Linked DNA regions of Homo sapiens: region 2 is linked to region 1. Evidence: promoter capture Hi-C in 16 types of primary human blood cells and fetal thymus (Javierre and others, 2016). All regions are on one chromosome and are shown on one strand. Each heading gives the region's core, a stretch centred on a gene start or on the middle of the fragment in contact. The rest is flanking DNA. Distances are from core to core; before and after follow the strand shown. Region 1 holds the start of HAUS1 (HAUS augmin like complex subunit 1). Region 2 holds the start of MBD1 (methyl-CpG binding domain protein 1).

Region 1 (5,359 bases), core at 1,752-4,251:
GCAAAACCCCGTCTCTACTAAAAAATCAAAAATTAGCTGGGGGTGGTGGTGCACACCTGTAACCCCAGCTACTCAGGAGGCTGAGGAAGGAGAATCGCTTGAATCCAGGAGGTGAAGGTTGCAGTGAGCCAGGTGGAGGTTGCAGTGAGCCAAGATTGCGCCTCTGCACTTCAGTATGCGCGACAGGAGTGAGACTATCTCAAAACAACAACAACAATAACAACAAAATTAGCCGGCATGGTGGCTCACACCTGTAATCCCAGCACTTTGGGAGGCTGAAGCAGGTTGATCACTTGAAGTCAGGAGTTCAAGATGAGTCTGGCCAACATATCGAGATCCCTGCACCCCCTGCCCCATCTTTAGCTGGGCATGGTGGCACATGCCTGTAATCCCAGCTATTTAGGAGGCTGAGGCACGAGAATCACTTAAACCTGGGAGATGGAGGTTGCAGTGACCACTGCACTCCAGCTTGGGCAACACAGTGAGATTCTGTCTGAAAAAAAAAAAAAGGCCGGGCATGGTGGCTCATGCCTGTAATCCCAGCACGTTGGGAGGCTGAGGTGGGCGGATCACGAGGTCAGGAGATCGAGACCATCCTGGCTAACATGGTGAAACCCTGTCTCTACTAAAAGTACAAAAAATTAGCCGGGTGTGGTGGCGGGCACCTGTAGTCCCAGCTACTCGGGAGGCTGAGGCAGGAGAATGGCGTGAACCCGGGAGGCGGAGCTTGCAGTAAGCCGAGATTGCTCAACTGCACTCCAGCCTAGGCAACAGCACAAGACTCCCTCTCAAAAAAAAAAAAAAATTGCAGGGATATTTTGTAAAATTTGTAGTGATAAAAGTGGACAAAAGACATAAAGATAACTTTTTTTGCCCCATACTGAAGGGCTGCACCAGTTTATCTGAAATTTGGTTACAGAGCAGAGATATATTTAGTTTTTGTTTTTTTTTGTTTTTTGTGGTGGATTCTCACTCTGTCGCCCAGGCTGGAGTGCAGTGTCTCAATCTCAGCTCACTGCAAACTCTGCCTCCAGGGTTCAAGTGATTCTCTTGCCTCAGCCTCCCAAGTGGCTGGGATTACAGGCACGTGCCACCATGCCTGGCTAATTTTTGTATTTTTAGTAGAGATGGGGTTTTGCCATGTTGGTCAGGCTGGTCTTGAACTCCGGACCTCAGGTGATCCACCTGCCTCGGCCTCCCAAAGTGCTGAGAATATAGGTGTGAGGCACCGCATCCAGCCAGAGCAGAGATATGTTTGAAGCAAAAAGAATAAGCAAGACAGGCTGGGTGTGGTGCCTCATGCTTGTAATCCCAGCACTTTGAGAGGCCCAAGTGGGAGCATCACTTGGGGCCAGGAGTTCAAAAACAGCCTGGGCAACATAGTGAGACCCTCTTTCTACAAAAAATACAAAAAGTTAGCTGGGTGTGGTGGTGCACGCCTATAGTCCCAGCTACTAAGGAGGCTGAAGCGGGAGGATTGCTTGAGCCCAGGAGTTCAAGGTTGCAGTGAACTGTGATCACCACTATACTCCAGCTTGGACGAAAGAGCAAGACCCTGTCTCTAAAAATAAAATAAAATAAATAATAAATAAGCTTGGCTTGCTAGTAAGTTTCCTTTGAAAAGAAAATCATTTTAGGCTGGGTGTGTTGGCTCACACCTGTAATCCTAGCTCTTTGAGAGGCCGAGGCAGGCAGATCACTTGAGGTCAGGAGTTTGAGACCAGCCTGATCAACGTGGTGAAACCCCCCGTTCTACTAAAAATAAAAAAATTATCCCTGCATGCTAGCACAAGCCTGTAATCCCAGCTACTAGAGAGGATGAGACAGGAGAATTGCTTGAGCCTGGGGACGGGGGTTGGAGGTCGCAGTGAGCCAAGATCATGTCACTCTGCACTCCAGCCTAAGCGACAGAGAAACACTCCATCTCAAAAAGAAAAGAAAAGGTCGGGCGCAGTGCCTGTAATCCCAGCACTTTGGGAGGCCAAGGCGGGCGGATCACCTGAAGTCAGGAGTTCGAGACCAAGCTGGCCAACCTGATGAGATCCCATCTTTACTAAGATACAAAAAATTAGCTGGGCGTGGTGATGCACACCTGTAATCCCAGCTACTCGGAAGGCTGAGGCAGGAGAATCGCTTGAACCCGGGAAGCAGAGGTGGCAGTGAGCTGAGAGCCGAGAGCCGAGATCGTGCCACTGCCCTCCAGCCTGAACAACAGAGACTCCATCTCAAAAAAAAAAAAAAAAAAAAAAAAGCTGGGCGCGCTGGCTCACGCCTGTAATCCCAGCACTTTGGGAGGCCGAGGTGGGCGGATCATGAGGTTAGGAGTTCGAGACCAGCCTGGCCAATATGGTGAAACCCCGTCTCTACTAAAAACACAAAAATTAGCCAGGCGTGGTGGCGCTTGCCCGTAGTCCCAGCTACTTGGGAGGCTGAGACAGAAGAATCGCTTGAACCCAGGAGGCAGAGGTTGCAGTGAGCCGAGATCATGCCACTGCACTCCAGCCTGGGCGACAAAGCGAGACTCTGTCTCAAAAAAAAAAAATGTCCCTAGTTTTTAGGTTGGGGGAACTAACGGATCAAGTTAAGATTGCCTCAGCTCATATTGCCAGGGTAGAATATAAATTCTGAGTGGATGCAATCAATGTGGAAGAAACACAAACATCTTGCTAAGCAAGAACCAAACGTTTCAAGTACTTTTTTTTAACGACAAGTGATTCAAACAAGAAATAAAAATAAAAGAAAGAAAAAACAACCTGGTTCTAGGCGGCTCTATCTCTCGTAGTGTTGATTATACCGCGGAAGGCGGGAAGAGCTGGGAAGTGGCAACGAAGCGAGGCTTGCAATGCCAGAGCCTTCGACCAGCCTTGCACAGGGGCTCAACGGCCAGGAGTCTCAGGTAAAACCACAACTCCCAGAAATCCCGGGCCCGGCGAGGGGCGGGTGCCAACGGCGTGTGGGCGGGGCCTAGGGAGTGAGCGGGGCGCATCTCCCGCTAGGAGTTCCTAGTAAAGTGGCGGGAGCCGCAGCTATGGAGCCGCAGGAGGAGAGAGAAACGCAGGTGATGGGGCGGGAATGGGGATCGTTGGCCTCCTGGAAAACGCGTTTTTGACACCCCCGCGCCGACAGCGGGTCTCCTGTGCGCGCCACGTCTACTTTTCTCTCCCCTATTCCACACATCCGTCTTTTAGTGCCGCCGTCACTATCTGCAAGCCCCCCGTGCTTAGACTCTCCTGAAGGCCTTTCCCTTCCTGCCCGGGCCTCCCCTTGTTTGGATCTGGCCCGGGAGAGGCGTTGAGCAGCCCGTGTCCACAGACTCTGGAGTGGGACTTATGAAGCCAAACCCGCCTTCCGGTTCGCTGCTCAGCCCGGCGGCTTCCACATCTGAACTGCTTCCGCGCCCTGCATCCCAACACTGGGAGCCTCCCGGCGCGGCGGGGCTTCTGGTGATCGAGGGACAATTGCTTTTTTCAGACCATGCACGGTCTAATAATGCGTTCGCATTATTATGGTCTATTAAGCTTTAAGGTTTTTCAAGCGAGGCAAATTGTTAGCCTGTACCGCTTTTGCAGATTTGGAAAAGAACGGATTGTTCTCTGGTAATTTTCAGTATTGTACGTTTCTTTGTGTACTTGCTCACTTTTTATTTCCTGATATCTAGTATCTCCCTAAAGACAAGTGAGGTTGTGAAGTAGGACTCCAAAATAGTCACAGAAAGCATTTAGTTTGCTTTTGATCACTTCTTTGTCATATTCTCATCGAGCCATTACAGTAAACAAGGCTTATAATATTTGTCTTTCTTTTAATGGTTAGGTTGCTGCGTGGTTAAAAAAAATATTTGGAGATCATCCTATTCCACAGTATGAGGTGAACCCACGGACCACAGAGATTTTACATCACCTTTCAGAACGCAACAGGGTCCGGGACAGGGATGTCTACCTGGTAATAGAGGACTTGAAGCAGAAAGCAAGTGAATACGAGTCAGAAGGTGAGATTAAGTCCAGAGTTTTGAACGAGAATAAATAGAGGTAACCAAATTTTATAACACTAAAGTATACAGGATTAATTTACTGTAGACTACTTGTTTTGCTCCTTTATTTTTCCCAGATTTTCTTCCACTCTGTTATAGTAGTAACTTTATTGTTTTATGTTTATATATATGTATATGTATGTGTGTGTGTGTGTGTGTGTGTGTGTGTGTGTGTGTGTGTGTATATATTTTAGACAATCTTGCTCTGTCGCCCAGGCTGGAGTGCAGTGGTGTGATCTCAGCTCACTGCAACCTCCATCTCCTGGGTTCAAGTGATTCTCATGCCTCAGCCTCCCAAGTAGCTGGGACTACAGGCCTGCACCACCACACCCGGCTAATTTTTGTGTTTTAGTAAAGACAGGGTTTCACAATATTGGCCAGGCTGGTCTCGAACTCCTGACTTCAGGTGATCCGCCTGCCTCAGCCTCCCAAAGTGGTAGGATTAGAGGCATGAGCCACCCTGCCTGGCCAGTAGTAATTCTCTAAGTAATAAATGTTATTATACTAAATATCTTATTGGTACTCTGATAGCAAAACAGTAAGCCTTAAAAGAGTCTAAACTTGTTAGTCTGACACACAAGATGCCTTGTGGTTTTTTACTTACCTATCTGTTTTTTCTGTTTCCGGTCTCCATGATTTAGTCATACGGACCTATCAGGACACCTGAGGTGGTGGCCATGAAATGTGAGACTTGGACGAAATTACTCTATGACTACGTATCAGGAGATTGCATTAGAATTTTCTGCTGGGCATATATAGTTTGAAAAAGTGCATTCAAGGCCGGGCACGGTGGCTTACGCCTGTAATCCCAGCACTTTGGGAGGCCGAGGCGGGCGGATCACAAGGTCAGGAGATCAAGACCATCCTGGCTAACACGGTGAAACACCGTCTCTACTAAAAATACAAAAATTAGCCGGGCGTGGTGGCGGGCGCCTGTAGTTCCAGCTGCTCGGAAGGCTGAGGCCGGAGAATGGCGTGATCCCAGGAGGCGGAGCTTGCAGTGAGCCGAGATCGCACCACTGCACTCCAGCCTGGGCGACAGAGCAAGACTCCGTCTCAAAAAAAAAAAAAGAAAAAAAGAAAAAGTGCATTCAAGATGCCTATTGTTTTGATAATACAAACCACAAAAGTAAAGATTGACAAAAATCTTTTTAGATACGAGAATACACCAAAGAGAGGAAGTGAGGCCTGCATTTGCCCTATATTTAATCAGATGTATGGTATTTGTTACATATGATATTTTGAATATAGTGCAGTTTATATTTGATTCTATTGCATATGTGCTTTTTTCCAGTTTTCTTTTAAAAGTTAATATACAGCAGGGCCAGGTGC
Region 2 (5,806 bases), core at 1,705-4,204, 4.2 Mb after region 1:
AAAAGTAATTTGTAATTTGATATTTACCTGGAAAGATAGCAACTTAGATTTAAAAAATCAGAAAGAATATAGAAACTTAATAATGTTTCTTAAACACATGTAAATGCTTATAAACATCTATGTTGACTCTCATTAGTTATGGTAGTTACGTTCTACAAAGCTATCATGAACATTGAATACAAAACCATTGCTCCTAGAAGAAATACAGGGTTAGGTTCCTGAGAGCATCTGAACTTTTGTTTTGTGTGTGTTTCTGTTTAAACACACATTACTTAATACATATTTTTTTTTACAAATGATTATTTGCATGGTCTTTGAATGACTCAAACCAGGGGACTTGGAGGCCGTATGTGTTATGTAAGGTTTTTTGCCAATATTCTTGTTTAACAAGCCAATCTCATTGACATTGAAAACCACTCTTCCACACAACCCCTTTCCTGTACAACACTTAACAGGTATTTTTAAAATTCTTCGGAAGACTCCTGATCAGCAGAACCTGCATTGCATGCAGGTTTAACATGTTTCATGCCATGTCGCCTTTTGAAATGTGCAAGTCAGCCAGCACTAGCTGATATAACCTTAATATTTTCCTAACCCAGGGTAACATGACTTTGGCTTTCCTCAACAATGCTGTCAACTATGCTTTATTGATCGTCATTTCATGAACCCACCAATGTAGCTGCTTTCTCATCTCTTACATAGCTTCAAGACTATAAATGCTTTCTGTACTTTCTGAAGCAGCTTTGTGCACATATTGGCAAATTTCCTTCTTTTTCTGGTTGTACCATAATTCTGATGCATAACATTGAACTTACAGCCAACAGCATTGTAACTCAGATAACCAGCAAAGTTTATCTGCCTTGTATTTTCTCCATAAAGCACGACATAGTCTTCTCACAGAACACTAAACAGCACCTCAGCACTATGCTTGGGGACCATTTTAAAAAGCAAAATCACCAAAAAGTACAAAAATTAGAAAAATGTGACACTAAACAGACCACGAAAAGGACACCTGTTTACAGTATTAAAGCTGAAAAGGGCTCCTTCAGCCTCAGCTAGAAATACATGCATTGAGTGACAGTTTTTCACTGCTCTGTACGTATTCTTGAATAATCACAAATGCACTGTGAGTAGTGACTTTTAAGTTACAAATAAATTTTATTAAGTAGGTGAAATTCAAACATAAAATCCGCTAATAAGGATTAACTGTATGTGCATAATTTAAACTTCATCCATAAATTTAACCACACCATTTGATTTTACCAGAATCAGGCTCTACCCCACTCCTGACTCTGCCCACTACCCACCCAGTACCTCTGGTAATAGGTGTCTGAGCGTCCACAGGTGGCCCCTGACTTGCGAAAGACTTCGCGGCGCTTCCAGCCAGGGCCCAGGGCCGGGCAGTCCAGCCAGTCCTCAGCCATGGAGGCCACAGGAAGCAGCAGTAGCCTGAAAGGGGGTGGAAGGGATGAGGGAAACTGAGGCTCTAGGAAGGGACAACACTGTGCCCCAGGCCACACAAATCACTGGTATCCATTAGTGCTTGCCCAAGCCCTAGGACCTGCCACAGGCAACCAGCCCATATATGGAAAAGAAACCCCTCATATTCTCACCCCATTCTTTCCTATTCTGGGCCTAGGATATCATCATTCCTCAACCCAAGGATCCCTGTTTCTTATTCTCAGTGTCCTAATCCCCTACTCCTCTCTATCCTCAGACTGACAACCCATCATTTCTCCTCACTGCCAATCCAGAAACTTTTCATCCTTCCCCCTCATTCCTCCCTGTCACTGACCTAAGGGCCTCTATCCCTCTATTTTATCACCCCAAGACCCCCATAGTCCCCATCCTCAGCCCCAAAGGGCCCCATTTCTCTTGCCCTCACTACTTGACTTCAGTAGTCTCTCATTCCCCCCTTCCTTGACCCAGGAGTTCCTAATTTCCCTCCTTCAGTGTTTTAACCACTCCATTCCTTCTCTGCCTGATGTCCTCTTATCCTGCTACCTCAGTGTTACAACCTCGACTTCCTCTGCGAGACACAACTGCTCCAACCCATAGCCTGAACAGCCCCTCATCTTTTCCATTCCTCACACTGGAAGCCTCCCATGCCTCCCCTTCCTCAGCCCAAGACCTCCCCCCTTATTTTTCTTCTCCTTCAATGTTCTCACCCACAATTTCTCCCTAGTCTGAGCTCCCAAACCTTCCTCTACAGCCAAAAAGTTCCCCACTTCTCCTCCTTACTGTTCTCATCCTCCATTCCTCCCTTATCATCCAGAGAGACCCTAATTTCTCCCCTCAGCATTCCGAACCCTCCTCCATTCTCTCTGTTCTTGTCCCGGGATCATGCCATCCCTAACTGTCACCATTCTGATCCCCTACTGCTCCTCGTCCTCTATATGGGGCCTCCTATTCCTCCCTTTCAGCATTCCAAAGCCTCTATTTCTCCTGTCATCAGCCTGAGGGCCCCTCATTTCTCCCTCTCAGAGTTCTGAACCCCCATTTCTCTCTCAACTTCAGATGCCCCGATGTCTCCCTTTAGCGTTCTGATCTCCACCATTCCTCTCCGTCCTCGTCCCAGGATCCCGACACTCCTACCTGTCAGAGTTCAGAGCTGCATTCCTTCCCGTCCTCAGCCTAAATCCCCCCATTTCTCCTCGTCAGTATTCCGACGCCGCCATTCCTCCCCCTTATCGGCCTGAGGGCCCTTCATTCCTCCCCGTCAGCGTTCTGAGCCACAATTCCTTCCCATCCTCCGCCTGAGCGCTCTCCACGTCCAGCCCCAAGGCTGTCTCACCAGTTTGGCACCAGGCCGGTATCTTCCGCCACTCTAGGCCCGTGGACCCATGGCGAGGGTCCCTCCTGCACCTCCCGCCTCGCCCTCCTCCCCTTCCTCCTCCTCCGCGGCCGCCTCCTCTGAAGCGGTAGCTGTCGCCTCCGCGGCTGTTCGTTGCTCCCGGAACCGGAAGTCCGCTGCCTGCCTCTCGGGCTCCGCCTCTGGCTAAGCACCTGCGCACTATTGCCTCGATGTCGCGTGCCCTTAATAGGGAGGCTCCCGCGCCTACGGGCCGGCGCTCCGCAGCGGTGCGCGCGCCCCCCTGCCGAGAGCCAGTTGCATCTGCGTGCTGACGTTCAACGACAGCTAACCCCTTCGAGGGACTGGCAGTTGCGGCTCTCCTCGCTGCCCATCTAGCTGGCGCATGCGCTTTCCAGCCTCAACCTGAAGGGAAGCGGTCGGGGAGGGCTTGCGCCTGCGCCCTCCCTTCCCTCCCGCGGTCTCCACAGCCGATACCGAACGCGGCAAGGAAGCTGCTTCGCGCCTGCGCACTCCCTGGCCCTGCCGGCGCTCTCCTCTCCCACCTCTCGCTGGGGTCTATCCTGTGTTCGTGGGTCCCTCCGAACATCAACCCCAGGGGGGGTCGTGTCCCGCTCCCTCCTCCCCGCCGAACAGCTGTGGGAGCGCGCGGGGCGGGGAAAGGGGCGGTGCCACACCGCAGGTAAACTGAGGCACGCGGGAGGGCGCGCCCCTGCAGGAGGCGGATCCCCAACGTGGGGCTTGTGGGGAAAAGGCGGGGCCTGGCGTCCACAGCGGACGACAGCTCTGGGTGGGAGACAGGAGCATGCATGGGCGGTGTCACCACACTGAAGGCGCGCTGCGTAGACCCTCTGCCCGTGGGAGGCTGGGAATGTGGGTCCCTGGGCTCTCGCGGGGTGCAGGCGCCCCCCATCTTATCCAGAAGTCTGGAACAGTTGCAACCGCAGCAATGTGGAGACAGCTTCCTTGGTTTCTTCAAAATTTTATTAACAAAACCCAGGGAGAGGAGGCAAGGATGAGTGGACTCCGCAGCCCCACCAGGCACTGAACATGTCGACGGGGACAGTCCCTCTGATAAAGGCAGATGGGCGGTCAACCGGTGGATGGGCACAGGGAGAACCGGAGAAACAGATGAGTGGAGGAACGGACACACGGGCACCGGGCGGCTCCCCCATCTGGAATGCAGGGTGTAAGGGGTCCGGGCCAGGAGGCTCAGCGGTCGGCACTGGAGCGCAGGTCGGTAGTGAGGGGATCGTGCTGGATCGTCTGGTGCAGCATCAGGGCCAGCAATCCCGCGCGGTTTGTCATGGCTGTGCGCACATTGCGCTCCTGCTCAAACAGCTCGTCCAGCTTGTACCACTGCCAAGGGAGCGGCAGGAGTCCTAAGCAGGAACACCTGCAGCCCCGCCTGCCCCGGCCACGTCCGACATGGAAACCTACCACATGCAGCACCAAAACCGCACAGAAACCTACCACACGCACGCGCTCCAAGTCCACTTCCGCACGCCGCAGCTTCTCCCAGCAGTAATGGCGATTGCACTGGCGCTTGGGCAGGCGGCAGAAGTCACCCGTGAGCTCAAAGACATCACGTACAAGGGGGCACCCGCATACCTCGTCAGCTGGCACCTGCAAGGAGGCCAGGTTGGGGGGATGAATAGCGGTGATAAGGGAGAATAGGAATGGGGGCTCAAGGAGGGAGAAGGAAAAGAATGGAGGGTTCAGGGAACGGTGAGGAGGCATGGAAAAGGAGGAATGGAGGGTGAAGCAGCAGGGAAGCTGAGAGGAAAAAGTGAAGGAAAAGTGAGGTGAGGAAGGAAGGGATGAATGTGGGACAGCGAGGCAGGGAGGAGGGGCAAAATGGGAGGAGCTGAGGGAAAACCTTACTTTGGGGTCCCGTGAGTGCTCGGGGCACAGCACCTGGAGCCGCTTACAGTATGTTTTGCTCTGAGGATTATACACATCACAGAAGAGTCGTGTGGCCCTGGGGATTTGGAGTAGAGAGGGCAGTAGAGGGAGGGAAGGGAGGTCCATCTGTCCTGGCTGGTTGCCCGTATCCTGCCCCAGCTCCACACACATCCCACTTCTGACCCCCGCCTTAACCCCCCACCTCTCACTGCGTGGCACCCTCACTTACCCTTCAATGCGTGTGGGGTACATGGACCCAAAGGACGTCTGGCTCTCATACTGGAGGGATGAGCACAAATGGAGGGAACTGTGGATGTGCGCTGCATGCCCTCCCAAGACACCACCCAGACAACAAATCTGTCCCCCACTGGCCCACTGATGTTCCCACATGGTCCGCCCCCTCAGTCTGACACCCCAACCTTGGCGTAGCAGCGCTCCATGTGGCGCAAGGCAACACGTGGGTTGATGGGGTGCCCACAGGAAACACAGAAGATCTGCAGGTCTGTGTCATCACTGTCACCCTCGTTGCTCTGCATGGAATGGAAGGAACAATAAGGCTGGGAAGGACAAAGTACAGGCCCTGCTCTGCTGCGCCCCTGCTTGCTCACCTCCTCATCCTCGCGCACAGCCTGCTGCTTGGCACGTAGAATGATGGCCTCAAGCTCATGGAATCGGCGTTCCATTTCCTGAAGGCGAGTGCGGGCACTCTGCTGCTCTCGGCGAATGCGTTCGAGCAGCTTCTTGCCGTGCTCTTCAGCAATGCAAGGGCTCTGCTGCCACTGCTGGATGCGCTGGGGGAGGATCTCGTAGATGCGGCTGCAGGGAAGGTAGCAAGCAACAGAATGAGTGAGGTGATCAGTAAGTGAGAATGGCAAAATAGACGCAAATGGCAAAAGGAGAAGTAAATAGGTGACTGGCGGAATGGTGGCTGGATGGACACACGGGCAGGTGGGTGGGTAGGTGGATGGGTGAGTGGGTAGTGGCTGTTTGGTGACTGGTGGATAGCTGATTGACTGGTAGACATACAGAAGGCTGTGGTCAGGCCCTACCATGCACTTCCTGACTCCCTTGAACCTCTCAGGAATGACT

Evidence for each region. The method cuts DNA at HindIII sites, captures the fragments that hold promoters and counts their contacts. A CHiCAGO score of 5 or more calls a contact.
Region 2: the fragment with the promoter of MBD1 here is called in contact with the fragment with the promoter of HAUS1 in region 1 in 1 of 17 cell types (non-activated CD4 T cells); the score reaches 5.5 in non-activated CD4 T cells.

The regions. Positions count from the first base shown.
Region 1 is chr18:46,101,384-46,106,742 of GRCh38, forward strand. It overlaps HAUS1 (HAUS augmin like complex subunit 1), which reads left to right and starts at 3,002. Exons shown (of 9, transcript NM_138443.4): 1 at 3,002-3,058; 2 at 3,811-3,985. The coding sequence starts at 3,029. It also overlaps a transcript of ATP5F1A not described here. RefSeq lists a silencer at 2,827-2,926 and an enhancer at 3,317-3,406. The HindIII fragment of the contact is 1,925 bases long and covers 1,592-3,516 here.
Region 2 is chr18:50,278,569-50,284,374 of GRCh38, forward strand. MBD1 (methyl-CpG binding domain protein 1) reads right to left here and starts at 2,955. Exons shown (of 17, transcript NM_015846.4): 1 at 2,795-2,955; 2 at 1,315-1,449. The coding sequence starts at 1,424. CXXC1 (CXXC finger protein 1) reads right to left here. Exons shown (of 15, transcript NM_014593.4): 10 at 5,326-5,533; 11 at 5,137-5,247; 12 at 4,947-4,996; 13 at 4,697-4,793; 14 at 4,286-4,438; 15 at 3,779-4,171. The coding sequence ends at 4,025. RefSeq lists silencers at 2,688-2,767, 2,778-2,887 and enhancers at 3,033-3,613, 3,614-4,194. The HindIII fragment of the contact is 20,722 bases long and covers 1-5,806 here.